2 separate regions of the Homo sapiens genome follow, and region 2 is linked to region 1. The links are contacts of gene promoters, found by promoter capture Hi-C in blood cells and fetal thymus (Javierre and others, 2016). All regions are on one chromosome and are shown on one strand. The core of a region is centred on a gene start or on the middle of the fragment in contact, and the rest is flanking DNA. Distances in the headings are between cores, read along the strand shown.

The links. Contacts are between HindIII fragments. The CHiCAGO score rates a contact against its expected background, and 5 or more counts as called.
Region 2: a fragment that was not itself captured here is called in contact with the fragment with the promoter of ART4 in region 1 in 3 of 17 cell types (total CD4 T cells, non-activated CD4 T cells and naive CD4 T cells); the score reaches 6.0 in total CD4 T cells.

What each region holds. Positions count from the first base shown.
Region 1 is chr12:14,842,179-14,845,574 of GRCh38, reverse strand. ART4 (ADP-ribosyltransferase 4 (inactive) (Dombrock blood group)) reads left to right here and starts at 2,049. Exons shown (of 3, transcript NM_021071.4): 1 at 2,049-2,605. The coding sequence starts at 2,462. The HindIII fragment of the contact is 16,901 bases long and covers 1-3,396 here.
Region 2 is chr12:15,214,735-15,218,307 of GRCh38, reverse strand. RERG (RAS like estrogen regulated growth inhibitor) reads left to right here. Exons shown (of 5, transcript NM_032918.3): 2 at 705-879. The coding sequence starts at 819. Among named protein-coding and RNA genes, the nearest start is that of RERG, 4.9 kb to the left of the region's middle. The HindIII fragment of the contact is 2,617 bases long and covers 16-2,632 here.

The DNA.
Region 1 (3,396 bases), core at 800-3,299:
TCTCTCTCTCTCTTTCTATCCCCCTTCCTGCTCCCTGCCCCATTCCCTTTTCTGTTCTCCCTCTTTTAGACTGAGTGGTATAAAATGTTACAAAGTTTTCTGCTGCCCTCCAGTGGTCTTATCCTGGAAGTGGCAGTCACGATAGGAAAAATAGCAAAACCTTTATAGAAGATAATAATAAAATGACACACTCTTTTAGAGTGTTTTAAGATCGTGGGCTTCAGGAGACAGAAAAGCACCTGTGATTACTAAAAAGTTATTAAACTTCACAGGGCCTCAACAACCACATTTATAAAGGAAAGGTTAAAATATCTCTTCATGGTCGTCCCATGGGTTGAGATAACATGCAAAAAGGTCTTGAAGTACAGTACTTGCTCAATAAAAGAAAAGTTTCACCTTATTTAAGCCTGACAACTTTCTATAAGGTTAAGGAAACTGAGGCTAAGCACAAATTACTTATTTTTTAAAGTTACCTCAGCCAGCATTGTGGGTAGAACTCAAACTATAATTCAAATTTTCATATTCTAAGTCTAGTTCTCTTCATGACATCTCAATATTCCAAAGTAACAGTTGCTAATAAGGAACCTTAAGAATTGTTAAAGTCTTAAAGGGATATTTTCACACACTGCTAGTGGTTGCCATTAAATCTGAAAAATATGCATTCCATGGATCAGTAGTCACATCTCTAGAACTGCATCTTAAAAATTGTGAGAAACACACAAAAATTTATGTAGTTGAAAACAAGCTAAATATAAGATATTTATTAAATAAACTTTGGTGCAAATAATAATAATTGGTTTTATTTGTTGGAAAATTTCTAGGTGCCAGATGCTATTCTAAGGAGTATGAATGTATCAACACTAAAATGAAGTTGGTACTATTATTATCTCCATTCAACACATGAGGAAACAGAGAGACAGAGAGGTTAAGTAGCTTGTCCAAGATCACACATTTAGGAAGAAGGAGCACCAGGAATTGAACTGAGATGTCTTATTCAAGAGTCCATGTTCTAGTCACTTATCAATCTTCTTCTGAGACTGTCCATGGATCCACCCATGCTGTCCCATTGTGTGGCAGCACCTATGTAATGGAATATAGTGAACCTTTGTTTAAAAAATGTTTCAATAGGTATTAAATTATATAGGGACATGCTTACATTAAAATATTAAGGGGAATAAACAGTATGCAAAACTGCATACTATATTATTTCAGTTCTAGAAACCTGTGTGTGTGTATGTCTAAGGGTGTATAAATCAAAATCCAGACCTAATTAGTGGCTGTCTCCAAGTGACGGGTTATGTGTCATTTTTTTCTCCTTTGTGCTTTCTAAATATTCTGAATATTTGTTAATGAGACAGAACTGCTGTGATCATCAGAAAATTTAGATTAAAAAAATTCAGGGTGCCAAAAAATTCTAGAATACTTAAGAACAGCACTTAGTTTACCTTAAAAGTTAAAAATTGAATCCAGAAGTAAATATTTGCAAGAAAAACAATTATCAAGGATTGCTAACTTTTAGTTTCTTAAATAATGAATCCAGAAGTATAAATACAAAATATTTGCAAGAAAATATAATTATATCAAGGGTTGGGAGGAGAAGAAGGATGTTTAGACTAGAAAGGGTAGTACCTACCTAAAAGAGAGTGCTTAATAGAACTGTGCTGGATTAAGTTTGCACAGTGGACCCTATTTTAACTTATGTCAGCTCTACATAAGCAGTCTCCTGACAGTCGTCATTAGGATTCACTGGAGACTGGAACTGTGCGGACAGAGGGCCTGTCTTCAGAAGAGAAAATGGGGGAAGAGCTTTGAACCCAGAGGTACAATCTCTGGATTGGAGAGTTTCAAAGGTGCCAGGGAAAAGCAGTACAAAGAGCCTTCTTTTTGACAATAACTCTAAAACACACTTTGCTCTGTGAACGCCCGTCCTGGGCAGGGCCTATCAGCAGGGCCAGATGAGCCTATAGACACCCAGGGTGGCGCGTTCCCAGCCGCCCTGCGCATGCCAATCTTATCAGTTTTGATGGAAGCCTGGGGCTCCAGATAATGCTACTTGGCCCCAAACGCTGGACAGAGCATGCTTTTTCCTGTTTGGCTGGGAAAGGGAAGGCTGAACTGCTGAGTCTGACACTTAACAGGACTTCGGCATTCCCCTGAATACAGACTAGATCAGAGATTTTATTTTTTTAATTGAAAAGTAACTTGGGTTCTCTTTAGAAACCCTTATTTGGTGTGCGCATCTGGCTATTTCACAGAGATTTCAGTTTTGCAAAGAAGTCGGAGTTGATTTCTTCCCTCAGACAAGCTATTGGTTGTTGGTGGGCAACAGAAGTTGCTCAGCATAGACAGGGGAAAAAACGGTTACGGATGAGACTGAAAGAAAACCTCAAAGGAGAACTCTGAGAATTCATCTCAGGATGAAGCTGCAAGGGCAAAGGAGAAGTACTTGTGACACAAGCAAATGGGTCCATTGATCAACAGATGCAAGAAGATTCTTCTCCCAACTACTGTACCTCCTGCAACGATGAGAATCTGGCTCCTTGGAGGCCTGCTGCCATTCCTGCTGCTCCTCTCTGGCCTGCAGAGACCCACAGAGGGTTCTGAGGTAGGGGGACAATTGAGGGGGTGATCTCTTTATGATCAGTGCTCCAACAGAGCATTCACCCGGCCACAGCCTTTAAATGGCCGAAAACTTAGGCATTCAGAATCTAGTTTCATTCAGACATTTTAACAAATCATGTTAGTAAAGAGTGTTGAAAACAGTTATGAAAAATTGTAGAATCCTTCACTGTTAGTACACTTGACATTATGGATGCTAGTGGCATAAAGTTATTTTCCTGATCCACTGTAAAAATTAAGTAAAATATTGCTTCCATAGTACAAACAATGCAAAATAAACCAAGTCTATTTGGCTTTAAACTCTAGCATACAGATTGACTTAAGTTTTAAGTGAATATTTTAATAAAGATCTGTGTAACAAAAAACAACCTAATGTTAAGAGATGACAGAGTACATATTTGAGATCTAGTAACATATTAACAAAGTTTCAGAGTTCATCATGACAGTTGACAGAACATTGTATTATTGGTTTGGTTTGGCTCGGCTTGGCTTAAATAGATACCGTAGACCTATTTTAATACCTGATGTGAAGAGTTATTGGTTAAAATCATTTAATCAGTCTTAAAAATGTGTTCTAGTTCACAAACAACTAGCTGACGTCTCATCATAAATAACATAGTAAAAATACCAAATGGGATGTTCTTTAAGTTCCAGTTCCAACATCCTTAACATTGACTGGATGGAATGTGATCCTTTAACATGTCCCTCAATGAGTACTGTTTATTACGAAAACATCATTTCTTTGCCAAGAAAGGAATGTTTTAGAATTTATATAAT
Region 2 (3,573 bases), core at 75-2,574, 370 kb before region 1:
GTTATTTCCCAAGCTTTAAGACAGCACTATAAACAAATTTACTTGAAGTCATCATAGAAAAGGAATAACTTGGAGCATGGCATTTATCGTTTTTGTACCAGGGCATTGTGTCCAGCAAAATATAGAAATGTAATCTATGTATTATATATTGATTCCTAGAACATGTGTATCTGTATCTGTCACAGGAATTCATCATGTGATCAAGTGTGAATTGAGAAAAAATTTAACTTTGAGATGCAAAATTGAATTGTGTTGCATTGGAGTTGACTAATATGAATGTATGTTATTCAACCCAAAGAGACATGAAGAGGCCCAAAAGTGACTCTCTCCATTGCCCCACTGCATGTGTTTGTACACTGAATGCTTACAGATAGATGGTAAATGTGTGTATTCACTTTTACTTTCAGTTACTATCAAGAATCAATACCTTCATAAGAAAATTTCTTGAGGAAGTACTTTAGAAATGCTATTGTGTGTGATAATGCACGTTTTAGTACCAACCAGATCCAAATCCAAGTCCTGAATCTACCATTTATTAGTTAAATCATTTACAGTAAGTTACCATAGACTTCTCACAGGATAGTGGTAAAGATCAAACCAGAAAATGTTGAAAAAGTGAATGGTGGCTGGCATATAGTAGATGCTCAATAAATATTAATTCATTTTCCAGTCACTTATGAATTCCCAAATTTCTTTTGTTTAAGGATTGTGGACTCTTCCAAGATTCACAATGATATGGTGAATCCAAAGACTGGAACCAAAAAGATTTACTCAGTGCTTTAGTTTTAACAACAGTAAATTGTCTACCAACACCCATCATGGCTAAAAGTGCGGAGGTCAAACTGGCAATATTTGGGAGAGCAGGCGTGGGCAAGTCAGGTAAGATTTTCGTTGTGGTTGTTATAGTGTGTGTGTGTGGGTGAGTGTGTTTCTTTATTACTGTTTCTTGGGATTGGGCAGGTGAGTAGTTGGTATTCCTCCTATTTTCATTTCTTACTCTTTTAGATAAAGTCTCTTCATCTAGAACTTTTATTTTGCGTAATCGACTGTTACGTATCCTTTTGCTTATTTATGCTGAAGTAGCTTTGCTGATAACACACAAGATAAAGGATATATCAGAGGTCTTGGCATTCTGATTTTTAACAACCTCCAAAGAAATCAGATGATGGAAATTAAAAAATATATATTTGTTCTTTTCTCTATGTATGAGATCTTGAGGGACTGATTTTACATCTCATTCATTTTGATATTCTCAGCAAACAGTCCAGTGTCAAGCATGTGTTAGGTGCTTTAAAAATGCTTAAGTGAATCTAGCTTTATCAGAAACAGAATTGCATTATTGCCAAACACTCAAAAATCCTGAGAGGATTCCTGAAACTTTAGGAGTGCATGCTCTCAAGCAAGATAGCTATTGCGAATGCCTCTGCAGTGAATTTAAATTAGCAAGTTCTGGCTAACATCAGTAATTCAGAGACTTTGTTCACTATCTGAGAAATCGCTAGCAGACCTTTAAGATTAAGGGTGAAATGGTGGAAGTGAAAAATGTACCTGCTATCTAATTTGAAAAATACATCTTCGATCTTATAATTAAAGAATTCCAAAGTCAACGTTGCTGAAACATTAGGGCAGCATGACCTTTCAGGGTAACCTCTTGCCTTAGTCTCTTACTGGAGGAAGGAACCATAATTAACTGTACACAGAGCTTTTGGTTCTCAGGAAAGGACTCAAACAGATATCTGGTAGGTGCATGTTTGTAGAGGGAAACCTGTTTGGAAATAAACTGTATAATCCAATACATTAGGTAATCCACAAAATCTTAGACAAATACACATAATTGCTTTTTAATTCTGTGACCAACCTTTCTTTTCTAACCTGCTGTCTGGTTTAATTTCAGCAGTAATCTTCCCTCTTCTAAGTCTTTGTCTCTCGTTTTTCTTTTAATTTTCTCAAGAGTACTCTTTCCTGCTACCACCATTTTCTTCTGTTTGGTTTGCTCTTGCCTCTGGCAGAAACCACACAAGGAAAATAGATAGTTGGCAAGGCTAAGAAACTGCCAGCCTTCACAAGATTGAAGATAGTTAAACTCCTCCCTGTTAATCTCCTCAGTGTTTCCTAATGGCGTGAGAACCTAATTTCTGTAGCTGGTAGAAGGATCTGGAGAATGAGGAAATGATTCCTGTGAGTGGAGGATGGAGGGAAGGCAGTGTGGGAGAAGATGTGCACTGCCAGCAAGAGCTTGTCTAACTCCTTGTGAGTGCAGGGTCTAGGCTTGAGGCTGACCATTTATTCCTTCATTCCAGACTTCCAAAGGCAATAAGGGAAGGAGATTTTTTAAAACCTTGTATCATTTGTTAAAATAACCTACATGCGATTTAAGAAGTCAAACATAAAAATGAAAACTCAGCTGAGAGAACCACGTAGCTGTACGTGCGTCCATCCGTTTCCCATCTTCATGATCTCGGAGCAAGCTGGGTGTCTCCTCCTGTCAAGGCTCATGCATCAGCCTGAGCTGGGATGCCTGTTTTCGTTGCCTTTCCCCACATTGTTTCAATTATTCCTCTCATTCTCACCTGACCATTTTTCCTCACGCATGTCTTCGTCCACTGCTTCATCTTTTTCTTTTCTTCAAGCTTATTGAATATGGGTTCTTCCCTTACTGTCTTATCTTTTTTTAACTCTCCCATTCATTGCTTAAAACATAGCCATCTTCTGTTACAACCATGCTACTGAAACTGCTTTTGCTAAGGTCACTACCAAACAATGACCAACACATCTAATGATCATTTTCCAGTTCTGATCTTCTTAGACTTCTTTCTATCATCACACAGCTGCTTATTCTTTCCTGAAATTCCTTCCTTCCCAGGCTCCCATGACATCACACTCTTTGGCTTTGCTGCTCTCTCTCCGTAGCTCCTAACTAGCTGTTTTCATGGGTTTGCTCTTCGTCTGCGCACTTCTCAAAGTTGAAGCTTCCAGGGTTCTATATATCATCCTCTTGCGTCCTTACTCCATACACTGCCCCTAGAAGTGCTACTCACACCCAAAGCTGAAGATAACACCTGCACAGAGAGATCAAATTCTGCTGACCTGAATTTTATTTTATGTAAAATGCACAGGTTGAAATTGCTCACTAAGTTTCTTTCCAACTCTAACATTCAAATCTTCTTTGGACTGTTTTCTCTATTTGCCTTGAATACATTCCACCATTTGTGTTTGTTTTCATTTAGGTGAAAATGACAATGACAGACTACATATCTTTAACAATTGCCTTTTTGTCTGTCATCTATAAACAGACAGTGTTTTCCTATGTCAACATTAAATTATTTTTCTGAGACCTGTAACTGCACCTCACATTTTAAAAGTAGCACTCGTTTGATGCATGGGTGAAAATTGTGAAACCTTTTTCCATAGTTCAGTGAAAACGACCACAAACTACTTCATATCTACCAATTTTATTTTAAGACACTGGGTCTCCCTCTGTCGCTCAGGCTGGAGTGCAGTGGCATGATCATAGCTCACTGCAGCCACCAACTCCTGGGCTCAAGAGATCCTCCCACCTTGATCTCCCCAGTA